Linked DNA regions of Homo sapiens: region 2 is linked to region 1. Evidence: promoter capture Hi-C in 16 types of primary human blood cells and fetal thymus (Javierre and others, 2016). All regions are on one chromosome and are shown on one strand. The core of a region is centred on a gene start or on the middle of the fragment in contact, and the rest is flanking DNA. Distances in the headings are between cores, read along the strand shown.

Region 1 (4,302 bases), core at 491-2,990:
ACCACTACCAACCTTGCCTCCCCCTCCTCTCAAAGAGCCTCTGACTGTGTCACCAAGGGGCTCACATCTTATGTCTGCCATGCCAGGGGTGTCGCCATCCAGATGTGTTGGAAGCTTCCCCTCCTGCCTTATGCTCACCTGTGGACACCGAGGATGCCCTCACATTGGTGCTTTCTCCTCATCCTCATGCCCCCTTTGCCACAATGGTATGATGGCTTGGTAGCCCCTCGAGGCAGATGCACCTGACTTGCTGCTATTAAAAAGCCGTGTGCCTTCTACCAATTGTGGCCTCTTCTTTACTGCCTGGTGCTTCCAAGAAAGGGCACTGTTCTTGGTCTTTCTGGTTAAACTACCAACCATGATCTATTGCAAGTGGTTCTTGGGCACTAGGTTCAGAGGCAGTGGAGGCTGGAAGGGCCCATGAACAAGATATTGGCATGGGGGTTGGCCATGCTGGGCTGTATTAGTCCAGTCTCACGCTGCTAATAAAGACATACCCAAGACAGGGTAAGTAATTTATAAAGGAGGCTGGGCATGGTGACTCACGCCCGTAATCCCAGCACTTTGGGAGGCCGAGGTGAGCGGATCACCTGAGGTCAGGAGTTTGAGACCAGCCTGACCGACATGGATAGACCTCGTCTCTACTAAAAATACAAAATTAGCTGGGTGTGATGGCACATGCTTGTAATCCCAGCTACTCGAGAGGCTGAAGCAAGAGTATTGCTTGAACCCAGGAGGTGGAGGTTGCCGTGAGCCGAGATAGTGCCACTGCACTCCAGCCTGGAGAACAAGAGTGAAACTCTGTCAAAAAAAAAATTTATAAACGAAAGAGGTTTAATTGACTCACAGTTCCACATAGCTGGGGAGGCCTCACAATCGTGGCAGAAGGCAAATGAGGAGCAAAGTCACATCTTACATAGCAGCAGGCAAGAGAGTGTGTGCCGGGGAACTCCCCTTTATAAAACCATCAAATCTCATGAGACTTATTCACTATCATGAAAACAGCACGGGAAAACCTGCCCCTGTGATTTAATTACCTCCCACCGGGTACCTCCCATGACACGAGGGAGTTATGGGAGCTGCAATTCAAGATGAGATTTGGGTAGGGACACAGCCAAACCATACTATGGGCCATAGAATTATCACCCTTTTCACACTTACCCCCCAGGCTTGGAGTTAGTGACCAGCAATCTGCCTTTCTCTGCACAGAGGGGCAACTGGGTCAGATTCAGGGTCTCCAGAAAAAGTTGGGGCCCAGGGATAGATTCAGGAGGAACCCACACAGTTTTCCAGAGGATAAGACTCTCAGCGGGGCACGGTGGCTGACGCCTGTAATCCCAGCACTTTGGGAGGCCGATGAGGGCAGATCACCTGAGGTGGGGAGTTTGAGACCAGCCTGACTAATATGGAGAAACCCCATCTCTACTAAAAATACAAAATTAGCCAGGTGTGGTGGTGCATGCCTGTAATCCCAGCTACTCGGGAGGCTGAGGCAGGAGAATTGCTTGAACCTGGGAGGCAGAGGTTATGATGAGCCAAGATCATGCCATTGCACTCCAGCCTGGGCAACAAGAGCTAAACTCGGTCTCAAAAAAAAAAAAAAAAAAAAAAAAAAAAAAAGACTCTCACTCCCGTTAACCATTACCCCACTGCTTCCACAGCGTCTTCAAGGAGGCGGGACCTGGGAGGGGATGGGTGGGAGGATCAGTGGCTGTGATGAACCTTGTCCCTACCCCGGGCACTGGGTTGCTGATCCAGCTATGGAGAAAGCCGCAGGTAGGAGGCCAGGAGAAATCCTCTGCAGGGGACTTTGGGACAGGCAGGGGGCCGACTTGGAGGCTGAAGCTTTGGGACCAGGGCACACTTGATTTTGGGGCTTGGAGCCCTGAGGCAGGTAAACAAGTCAGGAGAAAAGTAATGAGTTGATATGTCTGTCTTCCTGGTCCACACCCTGTACTGATATGCTCAGATTTATGTGCCAAGGACTTGGGGGGAGAGAAAGGGAGGGGACCGCACAATAGTCCTGTGTGTATGGCAGTGAGAAGAGAAGACCCCTTTGGAGCAGAAAGGAGGGGGCATGCCCTGAGTTTGGGGGTTTCCCTGAGTCCTTTTAGTTTATGCCAATGGAAGAGGCACATCTGGGGAGAAGAATGTGACTCTCCTCCTCTCACCCACTTCTTTGCCCAGTAGATCTGCAGGACACAGCCTCGTTAACTCTGTAAGTGCCACGAGGGTTGGGGCAAGGGGAGGAAATAATTGGAGGCAGCGAAGCGCTTCACTGCCATTAGCACCTAAAGGAGATCCTGGGACCCAAGTCCAGCTGCCAGCTTGTACCTGCTTCCCCTGCCTCCTTGCAGGAAGTTTAAGTTTAACCCAAAGCTGGGCATTGATAATCCTGTCCTCTCCCTGGCCGAAGACCACGACCCCTATGGTAACTCCCTCACCCCCTGGCAACCATTCCCTATCCCTGGAGGCACCACGGCTCCACACGGCCTCCGATCTCCTTGGTAACCACTCACTCGGTCTCCCTCTGATAACAGCCTTGGTTGGGAGTAGAGATAGGAGGGGCCGGGTGTTTTCTCCTGTCCCAGTCCCTCTGCCCACGAACCCCACCACCCAACACCCAACCAGGCAGAAACTGCCCAGCACCCTATCAGGACACAGGGTCTGCCAGGCACACGGCGAACCTGTACTTGGGCTGTGCCCTCTCCTCCCCCTTTTCTGCTGCCCACCTCACCCTCCAGATCCCTGGAGCCTGGAGCGGCCTCGCTTCTGTTTACTGAGCAAAGAGGAGGGCAAGAGTTTTGGCTTCCACCTGCAGCAGGAGCTGGGCAGGGCTGGGCATGTGGTGTGCAGGGTGGACCCAGGCACCTCTGCCCAGCGCCAGGGTCTTCAGGAAGGAGACAGGATCCTGGCGGTGAACAATGATGTTGTGGAACACGAAGACTATGCGGTGGTAAGGCTGTGGTCCAGGAGAGCATGCTAGCACCTCAGAAAGAGAAGCGGGTTGCTCAGTCCCCTGGGCAGTATGGCAGCAGGGCACAAGCCTCACTCCCCCACACCCCAGGATTTAGAAGTGCCCAAGTCAGAGGGGTAGGGAAAGCATCTAGAAAGCCGATTCCCGCTGGGCGCAGTGGCTCACGCCTGTAATCCCAGCACTTTGGGAGGCCAAGGCAGGTGGATCACCCAAGGTCAGGAGTTCAAGACCAGCCTGGCCAACATGGCAAGACCCTGTCTCTACTAAAAATACAGAAATTAGCTGGGCGTGGTGGCAGGCGCCTGTAATCCCAGCTACTCGGGAGGGCTGAGGCAGGAGAATCACTTGAACATGGGAGGCGGAGGTTGCGGTGAGCTGAGATCGCACCATTGCACTCCAACCTGGGCGACAAGAGCAAAACTCCATCTCAAAAAAAAAAAAAAAAAAGAAAAAGAAAAAAAGCCGATTCCCTTGGCAAAAAAATGTGGATTCCAGGGAGGTCCTGGGGGTTGGCAAGAGGGTCTAGACCAAACCCACGCCCACGTGCCCTCTGTCCAGGTGGTACGCCGCATCCGGGCCAGCAGCCCTCGGGTGTTGCTGACAGTATTGGCACGGCATGCACATGACGTGGCCCGAGCTCAGCTGGGAGAAGATGCCCACCTCTGTCCCACCCTAGGCCCAGGGGTCCGGCCCCGGCTGTGCCACATAGTGAAAGATGAGGGTGGTTTTGGCTTCAGTGTCACCCATGGTGAGCCCAGAGGGTGCGAGGGGGCGGCAAGGATGAGGGATCTCAGCCCCTGTTCAGGGCAGGCAGGAAACAGACTGGACCTTGCTTTTTTTTTTAATTTCTAGGCAATCAGGGTCCTTTCTGGTTGGTGCTAAGTACTGGAGGAGCAGCTGAGCGGGCAGGGGTGCCCCCCGGGGCCCGGCTGCTGGAAGTGAATGGGGTCAGTGTGGAGAAGTTCACTCACAACCAACTCACCAGGAAGGTGTGACTGCCTGTCTCCCACTCTCCTCCCCCAATCCGGGCCTGGGCCCCACCTCGGGAAGACGCCTCCTTCCCCATGCGCCTAACCTCCTTATCTGGTCTCCTACCTTTATCACCATCCTCCCCCTCTACAGTTTGTGCCAGGCTCCACTTAGTGCCTGGGAGGAGGGGCTGTGGGGGGAGCATACCTCTTCTCTCCCTGCCCAGGTGTTATACTGATGCCCTGCTGGGTCCCCACAGCTTTGGCAGAGTGGACAGCAGGTGACCTTGCTGGTGGCAGGGCCAGAGGTGGAAGAACAGTGTCGCCAGCTGGGATTGCCCCTGGCTGCACCCCTGG
Region 2 (4,302 bases), core at 1-2,500, 480 kb before region 1:
TTTGTCTTCAGTGTTATTCGGTTTCTCTAAAATGTATTTAACATAGTCTTATTTATTCTGCTCCAGAATTGTTGTGCTGCTATACCTCCGCCTTCTTTTCCTCTTTTCTTTCTTTTTTAATTTTTATTTTTGTAGAGGCAGTGTCTCACTTTGTTGCCCAGGGCGGTCTTGAACTCCTGGGCTCAAGAGCTCCTCCTGCCCAAAGTGTTGAGATTATAGGGATAAGCCACCACTCCTGGCCCCCTCCTTTTTTTCCTGGAAATTTTTTTGGTGCTTATGATGTGCAGTAATAAAAATACGATTTTAAGTGTTGGGGATTAAATAGTGAACAAAAAAGAGAAAGTCACTATCCTCATGATAGTGATATTTTATTTTATTTTATTTACATTCACAGTGCTTGGTTCACAGCACATATGCTAAAACTGGAACAATACAGAGAAGATTAGCACGGCCCCAGCACAAAGATGATGTGCAAATTCATGAAGTGTTCCATATTAAAAAAATAAAATAAAAATAGCAATACATTTACATTTTATTTTATAGCGACAGGGTCTCACTATGTTTCCCAGGCTGGTTTTGAACTCCTGACTTCAAGCGATCCTCCCGCATGAGCCACCATGCCTGGCCTAAGCTTACATTTTAGTTAGAGAAAGAGCCTGGGAATGAAGCTAGCATGGAGAAGAGCAGAGCTGAGATTTAAAGGGAGCAGATCCTGAAGCCTGGTTGAAAGCTGCATCGTTTCCCACCTGAATTCAACCACATTCATTTTCAGTAACACGAGCAGTAACTGCTTCTTGTTGTTTAAGCCAATTTAAATATATTTCTATGTCAATTACAAATGAAAGGGTATTAACTGTTAGGTGCCCAGCCTCAGCCTAATCTAGATGTTCTTTCTCTGCAACTTTGTATCTTCACTTAATTAGTTTACTTGAAAATTAATTAAATTAGGCCTGGTGCAGTGGCTCATGCTTGTAATCCCAGCACTTTGGGAGGCCGCGGCGGGCGGATCATGAGGTCAGGAGATCCAGACCATCCTGGCTAACATGGTGAAAACACGTCTCTACTAAAAATACAAAAAATTAGCCCGGTGTGGTGGCATGCGCCTGTAGTCCCAGCTACTGGAGAGGCTGAGGCAGGAGAAGCACTTGAGCCCAGGAGGCAGAGGTTGTGGTGAGCCGAGATCTCGCCACTGCACTCCAGCCTGGCGACAGAGCAATACTCCATCTCAAAAAATAAATAAATAAAATAAATAAATAAAAAAAAACACTGACACAGTGGGGATGAAGTTTCAATGTAAATTGCAGAGAGGACAACATTCAAACCATGGTACCTAGTCATAGTATTTTACTCTTTTCTTATGCTTTTAATTCCTGAAGTATCTAGACTTTCTAATCCTATTTTATAATACCTTTGTAGTCCTTATATAACATCTGTGTTTTGGTATTTGTTTCAGGTTTTTTCCTAAGTATGTGTCAAGATCCCATTTTCCAAGTCAAAAATGGGATTTTGCTACACATTATTTCATAACCTGCTCTTTGTTTTTCACATGATAAGGAACTTAAAACAACACACATCTTTTTCTGAGGGCAGAAATTTGGGCCCAGCTCACCTAGGTTCTCCGCTTCAGAGCTTTACCAGGCTGCTGTCCGGGTGCTGGCTGGGGCTATGGTCTCATCTGAGGCTCAGCTGGTCTCATCTAAGGCTTAATATTGGCCCCCAAGCTCCCTCAGACTGTTGGCAGAATTCTTCTCCTTATGGTTGTAAGACTAGAACTGGGGTTCATGTTTTCTTGTTGGCTGTCAGCCAGGGATGGCCCTTAGCAACTAGAGACTACAGTAGTTCCTTGTTGAGTGGCCCTGTCACCACAGAGAAGCTTACTTCTTCAAAGCCAGTAATAGACGGAGAGTCTCTGACCCTCTGAGAGGGCCCAGACACTCTTTCAAAGACTTCCACCTGATTTAGTCAGGCCCACCCATGAAAATGCCCCCTTGACTTCAAAATCAACTGACTTAGGACCCTAATTATGTCTGCAAAACCCCCTCACCTTTTTCACAGTCTATTAGCTGGAAGTAAGTTGCAGGTCCTACCGGCGCTCCAGGGGAGGAGGTTACACAGGGTGTGAACACCAGGGAGTGGGACCACAGGGCCCATCCCTGGGTCTATTCATACCATGTTTACCTTTCCATGTCAGTATCTTTTCTTTTCTTGGTTTTTTTTTTTTTTTTTTTTTTTCAGATGGAGTCTCACTTTGCTGGCCCAGGCTGGAGTGCCGTGGCCCCATCCTGGCTCACTGCAACCTCTGCCTCCCAGGTTCAAGTGATTCTCCTGCCTCAGCCTCCTGAGTAGCTGGGACTACAGGCATGTACCACCACACCTGGCTAATTTTTGTATTTTTAATAGAGATGGGGTTTCGCCACGTTGGCCAGGCTGGTCTTGAACTCCTGACCTGCAGGTGATACTGCCCGCCTAGGCCTCCCAAAGTGCTGGGATTTACAGGCACGAGCCACCGTGCACGGCTGTTATTATGTTTTCTACCACCTTCTAATGTTAATGGCCTCACAGCATTCTACTATGTGGATGTGTCAACATTTATTTAATTATTTATCACTAAGCACTGAATAAACATAAACATTTTAGTTTATTCCTTTTTTTCTTACAGACAGCGCTGGGGAGAATGAACGCCTGAGTACTCATGTCTTTATGCACTGTAGTATTATTTCCTTACAACAGACTCCTGAACCTGGAACGGCAGTGTCAAAGGGTTCACAAAATGTTAGACTTCTGAAGCAAATCAGATGGCACCTTTTTTGAATAATGAAGAATCTTTACCCCTGGCATGAGGAGCTGAGGACAACTCCCACTCCACGATGTGAAGCCACAGAGTTTCGAGGTAGTGGTTAATGGTGGTTGTGATTTTTTTGTTTTTGTTTTTGAGACAGAGTCTCTGTCACCCAGGCTGGGAGTGCAGTGGCACAATCTTGGCTCACCACAACCTCTGCCTCCCAGGTTCAAGCGATTCTCCTGCCTCAGCCTCCTGAGTAGCTGGGACAGGTGCCCGCCACCATGCCTGGCTAATTTTTGTATCTTTAGTAGAGACGAGGTTTCACCATGTTTGCCAGGCTGGTCTCGAACTCCTGACCTCAGGTGATCCACCCGCCTTGGCCTCCCAAAGTGCTGGAATTACAGGCGTTGAGCCACCACGCCCAGCTGGTTGTGATGTTCTAATTTGGACTTGGAAGTCAAATAATCGCCCCATGCCCTGTGGTTGCTGTGGTTGCATGCCCTGCCCCGGTGGAAGCTGGGGAAGTGTTTCCTGTCTGTCATCCCACCCATTCACGTGTCCTTATTATGGGTGAAGCCCAGAGAGCGAGAGCTCTCATTGTGGCCAAGGCTGCAGCCTTGCCACTGTCACGGAGCACAGCTCACGTCTCCTCTGAGCCGTTATTTTGTTTGTATGAACCCAGAATGTATGTAAATTCTGATGGGGTAAGCGGGCAGACAAAAAGGTCACTGAAGTGTCCCAAACAGAATCTCATTGTGTACTGGAGAGGAGGCAAAATAATCACTTGCCAGAGGGCGGAGCTTGGTTTTGTGGGACCTGAAGCTTAAATAATTTGGGGAGGCCTCTTTAAGAAAAAGAATCAAATTATGAATACAAAATTAGGATGAGGGTGTTTGAAGGGCCTCATGCAAGTGCGGTGCCTGGGACTTCAGCTTCATTAACTTCGCGTTCAGTCTACGCCTGCTTGCCAGTGGACTGGGTTTGTCCTGCTTGGAGTCTGGTTTTGTTTGTTTCCAAACTTATAAAATTAGATGTCTTTTCTTCTTTCCTTTTGCATTTGCAAGTGTATTAACATTTAAGAATTGAGCAGGCCTTCAATAATATAGCTTCTCTCTCTCTCTCTCTTTTTTTTTTTTTTTTTTTTTTTTTTTTGCTAAGATGACTCTAACCCCTCCCTGCTTCAAATCACGAACTTGCATTATAGGCACACAAAGGATGCTGACTCCCTCCAGCAGCCTCGTTTGCAGTACGGAGCCTGGGGCCCTTAATGGGATAACAGGGAAATGGGGAACTGGAAAGAATCTTCCAGCAGTTGAGTCTGTTTGCCCCAGGCACCATGTTAGATGATTACATTGTGTTCCTTCGCCCTTTTGCCAGGGTGACGGGCAGGCACTCCCAGGCTCTCCTCAAAACAGCTCCGATTTTAAGAGGGAAAAGCCAGGACACCACAAGTTGCAGTTCAAATATGAAACTGTTAGCAGAGTCATTTTGGCATAAAACCCACTGTATTAGTTGGTCTC

Evidence for each region. The method cuts DNA at HindIII sites, captures the fragments that hold promoters and counts their contacts. A CHiCAGO score of 5 or more calls a contact.
Region 2: a contact is called between a fragment that was not itself captured here and the fragment with the promoter of NHERF4 in region 1, in 1 of 17 cell types (naive B cells). The highest score is 5.2, in naive B cells.

Annotation. Positions count from the first base shown.
Region 1 is chr11:119,183,735-119,188,036 of GRCh38, forward strand. It overlaps NHERF4 (NHERF family PDZ scaffold protein 4), which reads left to right and starts at 1,741. Exons shown (of 11, transcript NM_001168468.2): 1 at 1,741-1,776; 2 at 2,191-2,218; 3 at 2,358-2,431; 4 at 2,745-2,956; 5 at 3,536-3,725; 6 at 3,830-3,966; 7 at 4,206-4,302. The coding sequence starts at 1,761. It overlaps NLRX1 (NLR family member X1), which reads left to right. Exons shown (of 10, transcript NM_001282144.2): 10 at 1-282. The HindIII fragment of the contact is 1,731 bases long and covers 113-1,843 here.
Region 2 is chr11:118,701,949-118,706,250 of GRCh38, forward strand. LOC105369519 (a long non-coding RNA gene) reads left to right here. Exons shown (of 4, transcript XR_007062909.1): 3 at 2,660-2,890. It also overlaps the pseudogene RNU6-376P. Among named protein-coding and RNA genes, the nearest start is that of TREH, 24 kb to the left of the region's middle. RefSeq lists an enhancer at 2,766-3,267. The HindIII fragment of the contact is 1,242 bases long and covers 630-1,871 here.